Linked DNA regions of Homo sapiens: all the other regions are linked to region 3. The links are contacts of gene promoters, found by promoter capture Hi-C in blood cells and fetal thymus (Javierre and others, 2016). All regions are on one chromosome and are shown on one strand. Each heading gives the region's core, a stretch centred on a gene start or on the middle of the fragment in contact. The rest is flanking DNA. Distances are from core to core; before and after follow the strand shown.

What was found. The method cuts DNA at HindIII sites, captures the fragments that hold promoters and counts their contacts. A CHiCAGO score of 5 or more calls a contact.
Region 1: a contact is called between a fragment that was not itself captured here and the fragment with the promoter of SPCS3 in region 3, in 1 of 17 cell types (monocytes). The highest score is 7.6, in monocytes.
Region 2: a contact is called between a fragment that was not itself captured here and the fragment with the promoter of SPCS3 in region 3, in 1 of 17 cell types (monocytes). The highest score is 6.5, in monocytes.
Region 4: a fragment that was not itself captured here is called in contact with the fragment with the promoter of SPCS3 in region 3 in 4 of 17 cell types (total CD8 T cells, monocytes, naive CD8 T cells and 1 more); the score reaches 6.9 in total CD8 T cells.

What each region holds. Positions count from the first base shown.
Region 1 is chr4:176,078,674-176,081,580 of GRCh38, forward strand. The region is part of intron 1 of WDR17 (WD repeat domain 17); the gene reads left to right. Among named protein-coding and RNA genes, the nearest start is that of WDR17, 14 kb to the left of the region's middle. The HindIII fragment of the contact is 5,497 bases long and covers 1-2,907 here.
Region 2 is chr4:176,103,316-176,106,378 of GRCh38, forward strand. All of the region lies in intron 1 of WDR17 (WD repeat domain 17), which reads left to right. Among named protein-coding and RNA genes, the nearest start is that of WDR17, 39 kb to the left of the region's middle. The HindIII fragment of the contact is 3,686 bases long and covers 1-3,063 here.
Region 3 is chr4:176,318,701-176,321,702 of GRCh38, forward strand. SPCS3 (signal peptidase complex subunit 3) reads left to right here and starts at 1,266. Exons shown (of 5, transcript NM_021928.4): 1 at 1,266-1,519. The coding sequence starts at 1,377. SPCS3-AS1 (SPCS3 antisense RNA 1) reads right to left here and starts at 1,810. Exons shown (of 4, transcript NR_186171.1): 1 at 1,445-1,810. RefSeq lists an enhancer at 1,077-1,577 and silencers at 1,560-1,679, 1,800-1,869, 1,900-1,979. The HindIII fragment of the contact is 6,231 bases long and covers 205-3,002 here.
Region 4 is chr4:176,169,454-176,172,561 of GRCh38, forward strand. WDR17 (WD repeat domain 17) reads left to right here. Exons shown (of 29, transcript NM_181265.4): 24 at 2,922-3,063. Among named protein-coding and RNA genes, the nearest start is that of SPATA4, 25 kb to the right of the region's middle. The HindIII fragment of the contact is 1,555 bases long and covers 642-2,196 here.

The sequences.
Region 1 (2,907 bases), core at 236-2,735, 240 kb before region 3:
TATTTTGCTGCTTATCTCTCCAATTCTACTCATATTTTGATCTTTGTCATGGGCTTTTTGTCATTTTTTAATTAATTTATTTTGTTCATTAAAACATAGTTATATGTATTTATGGGGCACATATTTATGATACATGCAATATAGAGTAATCAAATCAGGATAGTATATCTGTCACCTCAAATATTTATCATTTCTTGTATTGGGAGCATTCAAAGTCCTCTCTCTGGCTATTTGAAAATATATAATAAATTATCGTTAACTATAGTCTTCCTATAGTGCTTAGAACACTAGATCTTATTCCTTCTATATAGCTGTAATTTTGTATTATTTAATCCATCTTTTCTTATCTCCCCTACCCTGTACCCTTTGTGGCTTCTCATAAGCAGCATTCTACTCTTTAGTTGTATGATACCAACTTTTTTAGCTTCTGCATAAGAGTGAGAACATACAGTATTTACCTTTCTGTTCTTGGCTTATTTCACTTAACATGTCTTCCAGGCTTATCTATGTTGCCATGAATGGCAGCATTTTATTTTTTTATGGCTCAATGGTATTTCATTGTGTATATATACCACATTTTCTTTATCCATTCATCTGCTGATGGACTTTACGTTTGATCCTACATTTTGGCTATAGTGCTGCAGTGCTGCAGTAAACATGGGAGTGGAGATATCTTTTGGATGTTCTGATTTCCTTTTGTCATGGGGCTGTTTAATCAGTAAGTAATGAAATGTAAACTAATAAGAAATGTATTAGAATTGGAAAAATAAAACCCAGTTTTTATTAGCAGTACTGCAAATAGTCTCTATTTCTTAATGCTTTTAAAAATTTACACATAGTCTTTACTAAAATGTCAACATACACATACACACTCATACATATCTCAAATGGAATGTCTCTATCACCAGAAGGTGATTCATATTGAATCAAATTAAGGAAACATCAGTTATTCTTTATACCTACATACATATGTTGTCTTCATACATTTTCTGGTGCTTACAAAAGAATACCTGAAACTGGGTAACTTGTAAAGAAAATAAGTTTATTTCTTACCATTACGGAAGCTAAGAAGTCCAAGGTCAAGAGGCCACATCTGGTAAAAGCCTAAGAGCCTTCCTGCTGGTTGGGACTCTGAAGAGTCCAAAGGCAGTACAGGTAATCACAAGGCGAGGGGGGGTGAGCATGCTAACATGCTTAACATGCTTGTTGAGGTCTCTTCCTACTCTTATAATGCCACCACTTCCCCTCCCATGATAACCTGCTAACCCATTGAGCCACTAATTCATTAATCCATGAATGGATTAATTTGTTCACAAGGGCAGAACCCTCATGATCTAATCAATTTTAAAGGCCCCACGTTTCAATGCTGCCACATTGGGGATTAAGTTTCCAACACATGAAATGTAGGGGATGCAGTCAAACCATAGCAGCAGTCATCAGTAGCTATTTACTATAGTCAGATTGGTGGCCATTTACTGAATTAGAAAAAAACAAGTAGGAGCATATTTTGTGGGGAACATCATAAGTTTTTTTTTAATAACTTAAATTTGAGAATCTATTTAAAATCCATGTGGGGATGTTAAGCAGGAAATTATAAATATGAATTAGACTCAAGATAAAAACTTGGGGGTAAATGTATATGGTATTTAAATTTCTAAAACTGGATGGGATCACCGAGAGAACCGGTGTGGAGAAGAAATCCAAGGACTGATCCCTAGGACGTTCTAAAGTTTGAAGTTCAGGGAGATGATGAGGAATCAAAACAAAAAGATTTTAAAAAAACAATGGGGAGAAGGCACTGAAGTAGTAGGGGAATCAAAAGAAAACACTTTTCTAAAAGGTAAGTGAAAGAGATGTTTCAGGAGGGTGGATTCAACTGTGATCCAACGTGGCAGCTACTGCTGCTAAAGTAGCAAGTAAAATGAGGACCGATCATTGACTAGTGGAGGTTTTACTAATTTTGCTAATTAACAGCCTGCTTCTTAATCCTCAAATGCAGGATGAATACTTCAGTCTTAATTTTACTTGGCCTGTCTGAAATATTTAACCTGCTTGAGAACGTTCTCCTTTGACATTTAACATATTATTTTCTCTATTATTTTTATTTATTGTATCTCTTTGCTTGGTTGTCTTTTCAGACTCCTTTTTCTTTCCTGTACTTATCCCTCAGACATTGGTGTTACTCAAAATTGTGTATGAAATGCTTATCCAGACCTCTGTATTTTAATTTTAGGAATCTCCACCTACATGTCGCACTGACATTTTGCATTCAATATCTTTTAATAGAGCTTTATCGCTTTATCCCAGACCCTGGAGCTCCTACTGAATTCTCTCTCTCAATGAATGGGGCTAAGTTATTCAGTCAGGCAGAAGTCTACAAATCTTAAGTTCTACCTCTCCCTTGCTGCCAGTTAATTAGTTCAGCCCCTTGTCTTTCTCATCTACTTATACATGTTTTGCTACCCTGTCCCCCAGAGGCCTTTTCAAAATAGTGTCAGGATGATATTAGTAAATCACAAAATGGGATTTCTGTGTGATTTTAAAATATCGTTAGCATGTTGAAAATGTTTCAAAGACTCCCCATCTCCTATAAAGTAAAATTCACAGTTCTTACCATGATCTACATGACTTTCCATCATTCTGTCTCGCCTGTCTGTTCATTCTCATGTTCCACTACTCCTTTTTACGTGCCATTATACTTTAGGCACAGAAAAATAATTTCCCTCTCAAAGTTCCAACCTCACCTTTTTTTTATACAGCCTTCTTGGCCACCTAAATCATAGGCACATTTTTCTTTCTGTTCCTCCAAATATGTGTTCATTCTCTATTATAGCAGCTATTGCATATTGTTTCATACATTTATTTGTGTCTATTAGAAATGAAGTCAAGTGCAAATAACAGAAAATC
Region 2 (3,063 bases), core at 109-2,608, 220 kb before region 3:
ATAAAAACAAAAACAGCAAACTCTGATTTCCAGAGTTACCATATTACTAGATTCAAGTGTCCAGGGTTCAACAAAAAGCCACAAGGCCTAAAAAGAAACAGAAAATTATGTTTCTTTCAGTGGAAAAAAAAATAAACAGATGCTTTCTGAAAAAGACCTGATGAAAGATCTACTAGACAAAGACTTTAAAACAACTGTCTTGGGATGCTTAAAAACTAAAGGAGATATGGAGAAAGTCAAGAAAACAATGTATGAACAAAATAGAAATAATAGAGATAGAAAACCAAAAAAAGAATTGTAGGGCTGAAAAATATAATAACAAGTAAAATAGAAGAATTCAAAGACATATTTAAGAAGAAAATATTAGCAAATATGAAGATAAGACAATAGAAAATATTGAGTCTGAGGAACAGAAAGAAATTGAAGAGAAGTAAGCAAAACCGAAGGGACATAAGGGACACTATGAAGCCCACCAATATGCACTCATGTGGGAGTACCAGAAGAGAAGAGAGAGAGATGGAAGAGAAGAGAGAATATTTGAAGGAATAATGGCAGAAAACTCCTCAAATTTGATGAAAAACATGAAGTAAATTTCCAAGAGTTTCAGCAAGCTCCAAGAATTTGAACTGAAATAGACACACATGGAGACACATCATAATCAAATCTTGAAAAGCAGAGTGAATCTTGAAATTAGTAAGAAAGAAGTGATTAACACATACATACAGGGATCCTCAATAGTATAAACAGCAGATTTCTGATATGAAACTTTAGAGACTGGAAGGAAATGGGCCAATATATTTAAAGTGCTAAAAGAAAAAAAGAATGTCAACCAAATATCTTTTATCCTGCAAAACTGTCTTTCAGAAGTGAGGGAGAAATTAATACATTTCCCAGTAAACAAAAACTGAGGGAGTTCATTATCTTTAAACCTGCTTTGGAAGAAATGCTCAAGGAAGTTCTGCAGGGTGAAATGAAATGACACTAGACAGTAACTCAAAGCCATATGAAAAAATAAAGATCTTGATAAAGGTAAATACATGGACAATTATAAGTGCTAGTATTTGGAAACAATGCTATTGTTTGTTTTCATCATCATTTAAGAGAATAAAATATTTTAAAAATTCTTAGTATACAAGTAGTATTATTGTAACTTTGGTTGGTGATTCCACATTTTATTTTCTCTTAATTTAAAAAACTAATGTATTTAAAATAATTAATTAGTTTGTGTTTCAGGCCACACAATATATAAAGATGTAATTTTTTGACATCAACAACTTAAAGGTGTGGGGTTGGAGTTTTAAAGAAGCTGAGGTTTTGTATGTAATTGAAGCTAATTTGGAATAAAGTTAAATTAGAGTCTTGTAACTTTAGCATGTTAAGTTTAATCCCCATGGTAGCCACAAATAAAATAGCTATAGGATATACACAGAAGAAAATGAGAAAGGAATTCAAAGTTTCACTGCAAAAATTAACTAAACACAAAAGACAAAAGCGTTGCAGGAAATGAGGACAAAAAAACTATGAAGCATATTGGAAATGAATAGCAAAATGACAGAAGTAAGTCCTTTATCAGGAATTATTGTAAATGTAAATGGATATTAAGCTCTTCAAACAAAAGAGATTGGCAGAATTAATTTAAAAAAAGATCCATCTGTATGCCGTCTACAGTTGATTCACTTGAGATCCAAAGACACAAATAGATTGAAAGTAAAAGGATGAAAAAAATTTTTTCCATGCACAGAGTAGCAAAAAGAAAGCAGGCATGCCCTATATTAATATTAGATGAAATTGATTTTTAGTCAAAAAAGTTCAGAAAAGTCAAAGAAGGACACTATATATTAATAAAGTTTCAATGCAGCAAAATATAAGTTATAACATTTATACACCTAAAAAACACCATCAAAATATATGAAGCAAAAACTAACTGAATTGAAGGGATAGATAGTTCTACAATAATAGTTGGATAATTCAATACCCCATTCTCAATAATGAATACATCAGACAGAAAATAAGTAAGGAAACTGAGGACTCAAACAATATATTAATCCAATTAGATCTAACAGACATATACAGAACACCCTACTCAGTAACTGCATACACATTCTTCTTAAGTGCACATGGGATGTTTTCTAGGATAGACAATATGTTTGGCCAAGTATTAAGCCTCAATAGATTTTAAAAAGTAGTTATCATACATTATGTCTTCTCTGAACACTGTGGGATAAAGTTAGAAATCAATAACAGAAAGAAAACTGAAAAATTCGCAAATTTGTGGAACTTAACACACTCTCCAACAACCAATGGATGAAAGAAGAAATCACAAGGGAAAGTAGAAAACTCTTAGAGATGAGTGAAAACAAAAGCACAACATACCAAAACTTATGGGATGCAGTGGAATCAATGCCAGGGGGCAAATTTGTAGCTATAAATGCTTTCATTAAAGCATTTATAGGATCTCAAATTAGCAACCTATTTTTACAACTTAAGGAACTAACAAAAGAATAAACTAAACCCAAAACTAGAATGAAGGATATAATATCTAAGCAGAGATAAATGAAGTAGAGAATAGAAAAAAAAATAGAGAAAAAGATCAACGAAATTGTCAAACCTGTAGCTGGATAAACTAAGAAAAAGAGAGAAGACTCAAATTATTAAAATCACAAATAAAAGTTGGAACATCTCTACAGATTATAAAGAAATTAAAAACGTTATAAGATAGTAGTAGGAACAATTGTACACCAACTAATTCAATAACCTAGATGAAATGGGCAAATGCAACAATTTTAAAAAGCCATGCTAAAATTGATATAGAAACTCAAGAGACCCTGAATAACAAAACTGGGGGACTCGCATTTTCTGATTTCAAAACTTGTTGCAATACTACAGTAATCAAAACAGTGTCATACCAGCATAAAGGCAGTTATATAGACCAGTGGAATATAATATTTTATCCTGCAAATATATATAAATTTATATATAAATATAAAATAGAGACTTCAGAACTAACCCCTTACATATATGGCCAAATATCTTTTGCCAAGAGTGGCAATACCATTCAATGCA
Region 3 (3,002 bases), core at 16-2,515:
AACGCAACTAAGGATCTCTCTTTAGTCTCTATTTTATCGATTTTTCATTAGTTGGCTCTATTTGAGCAGGGAGTCTGCCTTATTAGTGCTGTATTCTCAAGGCTTAGAACTATTCCTGGTACACGGTAGGCACTTGGTAATAATCCTACCTGTATGGCTATACAAAAATTAATTGAATGGTCATGAATAATGCAAAGAAGCAAAAGCTTAACAAGAGACAACATAAGCCAGTATCAAGATCAGATGTTCACAGTTTTCTGGTTTGTTCCTGATCACATTCCAGGACAGATATTTTTGTTTGGTTTATGGACTGAAATTTTTAAAAAAAATTTATTTCAGCAGACCCTGAATCCATTTTTATAAAAACCCTTAGCTGTGAAAGGAACAAAGGTTTTGGCAGATAGTATAATCAGAGTCAGGATTGGCTCGGTTTGAACCCTAATGCCCTTCAGGATATTGAAAATGTGATAAAATAATTGCATTATTTATTAATGACCCAACGAAATTCTTATACATTATGCTGTAGAGCAATTCCGCAGCCATTATCTTCTTTGCTCCTAAGAACCCAGAAAGGTTATCCTTTTATTTATCAGAAATCACCATGTTAAAATGCAAATACTTAGGATCGGTAGCCTCAACCCTTATCTTCTAAAACATCTTTAGCTATCCATACAAAGCAAAGCATTAATAGGAATTGGACTGACGTTGGAGGTGGAAATACTGATGCACGTGACAGCTTTAAGGACTTGGGCGGCTAATTCCCCACTCCCCACTGCTCCTCAGATCCTCCAAAAAAAGCTCAAGTCCTAACTTTGACCAGGTTTGACAAAGAAGGGAGAGGACCAGGCGTTTTGTAAAGTGCTGCTTCCAAACGCCACCCGTCAGGACAGATTCTAAACCACCTTAACTTGCTGCCGGTTTCAAGTGAAAATAAATGGTACATAAGTAATCAAGAAGTCGCAGTCCCAGACCTCTGACCAAAGAACCGAAAAAGGACAGCGAACGACCGGTTCCCAATTCTCTGAACCCAAAGGTCGGAGAAGCAATTTAGAAGAGGAGGGGGTGGGTCTTCCACAACAAACCCCGCCCCTCCCTCACTCGTCGCTGATTGGTGGCGGCGTTAGGCCGCGACGGAGGGGCGGGCCCGCGGCTGAGTCTCTCCCTTTCCGCGCCGCCCCGTGCGCGCTGTGGGTGTGTTTCGGGAAGCGGGCGCGCGCGCGCTCGCGTCGGAGGACCGGAAAGGAGGCGGGGCTGCGGCGGCGCGCGCTCCCGGAACGCGCGCACCGCAGACGGCGCGGATCGCAGGGAGCCGGTCCGCCGCCGGAACGGGAGCCTGGGTGTGCGTGTGGAGTCCGGACTCGTGGGAGACGATCGCGATGAACACGGTGCTGTCGCGGGCGAACTCACTGTTCGCCTTCTCGCTGAGCGTGATGGCGGCGCTCACCTTCGGCTGCTTCATCACCACCGCCTTCAAAGACAGGAGCGTCCCGGTGCGGCTGCACGTCTCGCGGATCATGCTGTGAGTGAGGCCGGGCCGGCGGTGCAGGACGCCGGGACCGGGCTGGGGCGGAAGCCGAAGCCGGGCCGCCGCGCCGGGGCTGCCGTGCCGGGGCCGCGGGCAGGGCGTCCGGATCGCCCTCCTGAGCGGCAGTTCGCCCCCGAGGGCGGTCGTCAGGGGTGGACGTCGCAGGCTTTTCCGGCGTCCCCTCGGAACTTGCACCCCTCCACCGTAAATTCCCGGGCTTGCTCTTAAATTTTAATTTTGAGCGTTCCTCAGGTCGGTGCCTCCGCTTGCTTCCTGTTCCTCACTTCCCTCCACCCACGCCTGGCCAATGAGGGAGCAACACAACAGCAGAGCCGGCGCCGCCGCCCGCCTGGGCTGGCGCCTCCCGCGCGTCCGGTGCCGCTCGTGGTCCGCATGCGAGGCCCTCCAGGCGCTGCCGCCGCGCTCTGGGTCGGGCTTCCGTGGGGTTTCCTGGCGGCTCTGGAGGCCACAGGACGGGGTTGTCTTTGTGTCATTCATCACCCGAGTTTGCCCTGTTTGACATTCCCTTTACAGTTGTTGCCTTTGCACCTTCAGAAGGCAGTAAACAGTTGGAGCTGCTTTGAAGTTGGCCAGAGATGTTGGGCACTGAGAGAATTAAGCATCTTAGCCTTCTGATACAGCGAGATTTTTGTTTTGTTGGGTTTCTTTATTTCTTTTTCTTTTGCCAACCACTTGAAGAAGTCTGCGAAAACGCCAAAAAATGCAGTTCGAAATGACAGTGCCATTTCGCTATTGCCTATTTTGTCCTTGATTTTATTCTCTGGCACTTTTGTCTTTAATCGTCGTATTTTTCCATCTCTTGTTCTCATACCCTTCTACTCTATTTCCGTCTTACACAAGTTCTTTAACCTTAGTTTATTTCTTTGTCAGAATCGCCAAGAAGCCAGTTATCAAATAGCGAGCCTTCTCCCCCCACCTTTTTTTTTTTTTTTTAAATTACTGTACTGATGTTTGTTAGATATTGTTCGAATAGACCTGGGGTGGACATCAGCACTGCCATTGTCAGCCCTGTGAGGGTTAGAAGAGCTTGGTGCATATTAAACACTGAACAGATGTTAGCTGTTGTTGTCTTGAGCAAGTTTTCTTACCATTCTGGGCCTTAATTTCTTTTTGTTTAAGATGGAAGTAATACCTAATTTTTAGGTTGTGAGAATTATTTGAAATGTGAAAAATATTGTCAGTGGGTCTGAGCCGTAGTAAACAGTAAATAGCAGCTGGTTACAGTAGTATCCCCTTAATGGGGTAGGTATACGTTCCAAGACCCCCAGTGGATGGCTGAAACCACGGATAGCACCAAACCCTATATATACTTGGTTTTTTCCTATACCGTACATACATACCTACCTATGATAAAACTTACAAGTTAAGCACAATAAGAGATTAACAATAACATAATAGAACTGTAACAATATACTATAATAAAAGTTATGTGAATATGATCTCTTTCCCCTTCTCT
Region 4 (3,108 bases), core at 169-2,668, 150 kb before region 3:
GCAGATCACAAAACTATGCATATGCCATATGATTTTGGTTTGAAAATAAATGTGAATGTATGTATTTATTTATGTTTATAGCATATTTAGGAAGATACAGTTTCTTTTAAGAAAATGATAAGATATAAGTACAATATTTTCTCATCTTGAACTTCTAAAATAATGAAGTTTTTCACTTATTTGAACCGTGATTTTTTTATCCCTAGTGGGTGAGTATCCCTATTCATTAAGCAACAGATATTTTCTGAGTATTGTATTAATACAGATTGGCCAAAAGTGTGTGTGAATGACAACGTGTGGGTGGATATGTGTATGTGAATGTGTTTGTGTTGAGACGCGGAAAATACTTGTGAAAGGATAAATGTCCGAAATTACCAGTGGGTTGTGAGATGATGGGATATTTTAACTACTTTATACACCTTGTAGTCTGTGAATTATTTTTTTTAAAAGCTGTGCTTTGTTTTTTTAACATGACAACTAAAAGCTATTTTACATTGAAATTAAAATGCATATGAAAGAAAGTAGGAGTTTTTTAATTATACATTAACTGGTAGTGTTTGAATGTACACTAACAGCTATCCTCTGAGGCAGAAGGTGCAGATGTTAATATCAAGACTCAGAGAGGCTAAATGGCTTGTCTAAGCTTTAAGACTTAAACTAATGACCTCACTTATTATTTTCAGATTTTAAAGATATTTCCATAAATATATGCTCTTAATTCAAATAATTTTATTTATATCATTTAGGACAACTTTAATAAGAAAACCACACTAGTAATAGGAAAAATTTAGTATATGTACTATTTTTTTATTCCTATAAACTTTACTAACATTGTTGTCAAATCAATTATTTTTTCTTTTTTCTTTTTTTTTTTTTTTTGACATGGAATTTCACTCTTGTTGCCCAGGCTGGAGTGCAATGGCACGAGCTCAGATCAGTGCAACCTCTGCCTGCTGGGTTCAAGCGATTCTCCTGCCCCACCCTCCCAAGTAGCTGGGATTACAGGCATGCACCATCACACCCAGCTAATTTTGTATTCTTAGTAGAGACAGGGTTTCACCATGTTGGTCAGCCTAGTCTCAAACTCCTGACCTCAGGTGATCCACCCGCCTCAGCCTCCCAAAGTGTTGGCATTACAGGCATGAGCCACCACGCCTGGCCAAATCAATTATTTTCTAGTGCAAGCTACACACAGTAGAAGAATATAGGCAGTTAGCTAAGACCGCTTTTAATGATAGGGCTAGAATATTATTCACCTCGTCTTTTCATCACACATTCTAAAAGGATATAATTAGACTTTCTGTTCAGACTTCATTAATATCTTTTTAGAAAGACTAGTGAGTATGTGTAAAAGTGTTAATAACTGAACAATTTCACAAGTACAGATGCTCCTCGACTTACCATGGGGTTACAATGGGTAAATCTATCATAAGTCAAAAATATTCTACGTCAAAAATACGTTTAACACACCTGACCTACCAAACATCATAGCTTAACCTAGCCTTCCTTAAACGTGCTCAGAACACTTACATTAGGCTACAGTTGGACAAAGTCATCTAACACAAAGCCTATTTCATAATAATATCTCATGTAATTTAATGAATACTGTACAAAAAGTGAAAAACAGAATGGTGGTGTGGGTACTCACAGTACAGTTTCTACTGAATGCATGTTGCTTTTACACTACCATAAAGTCAAAACATAAGTTGGGGACTGTCTGTAACACTAAAAACTATATATTCACATATGAGGTACTTATATAACTTTTAGAATTTTAAAATAGGATAAAAATTACAAGGATGATCATCTTTTTCTTCTTCTTATAGTCTATTTAAAAACGATATTTAAATGGGAGTGATTTCTTATTTCCTCTATGCCATGAGCATATATCAAGGTGAAGAACCTATGTCTCTATCTAGCCAAGCACAGTACCTACCCTATAGTAGTTGCTTTGTAAATAACTGGCATTTCATGAATAAGGATGGGGAAACAATATCAAACGTTATATATATGAGAGCCCCGTTAATTCAGTTTGTTGTAATTTGTTTGAGAGAGAGATTGAGATGTAAAATGTTCATTTTACCTAATTTTTAAATAAGAAATTTGAAATGATTAAATGAATGTATTAATAAATAAATTGAAACAAACCATGAAACTATTTTATCCACATTGTTTAGCAACAAACTTGAACGTTTAAGCTTCAACAATTATAAACACATCAGAATTTGATATAAAAGGTAACTTAATGCTTAATACATTATAAGGAAGCAGACCAACTTACTTGAGAGAGGATCAGACTCTCAGTTTTAACAGAAAAAGATTTTTTTTTAATGAGGAATGTGGCTTTTTATTTTATAGTAATGAAATTTCATGGATGAAAAAATCTCCATTTCATGGCATTTCAAAATGTCAAAGCTAAAAACTTTTAGAGCTTCTACATTTTTTGTGTCTCTGAAATAAGGTTGCTTTGTTTCAAAAGCCAAGTGACGTTAAATTACAGCGTAGAGGACATGGAATAATGCACACCCTTTATGTTTGGTGCATTTAATGTCGTTTTTGCGCCGTTATGGTCAGTATATTTTTTCTAACATAATTAATTTCATCATTTGGGTGCTAAATGGCATTTTTGGGTACTAACTCCAGTATCACAATCAGGACAATTTACTTCTATTTCTTTTATTAGGTATTTGTGTGATGGAAAACTACTAACTCATTAACTAATATCCCCTCTTACTGTTTTTAGATCTTAAAGGTATTTCCATAAATATATTCTCTTAATTCAAATAATTTCATTTACATCTATTTTAGATAACTTTAATAAGAAAACCATACTAGGAAAGCTGAAAGTATTTTGTACTTACACTATTGCTTTTATCCGTTTGAATTTTAGTAACATTGTTTTCAAATCAATTATTTTCTAGTGTAAGCTACCCACAGTGGAAGAATGTATGCAGTTAGCTGAGACAGCCCGTGCAGATGACAATATATTTGAAACTGTAAAATATTACTTGTTAAGTCAAGAACCTGAAAAAGCCCTTCCTATTGGTATTAGCTTTGTTAAAGGTAAGTAATTAGTTGGTAGTAGAATTTTAAATATACTCATTTATT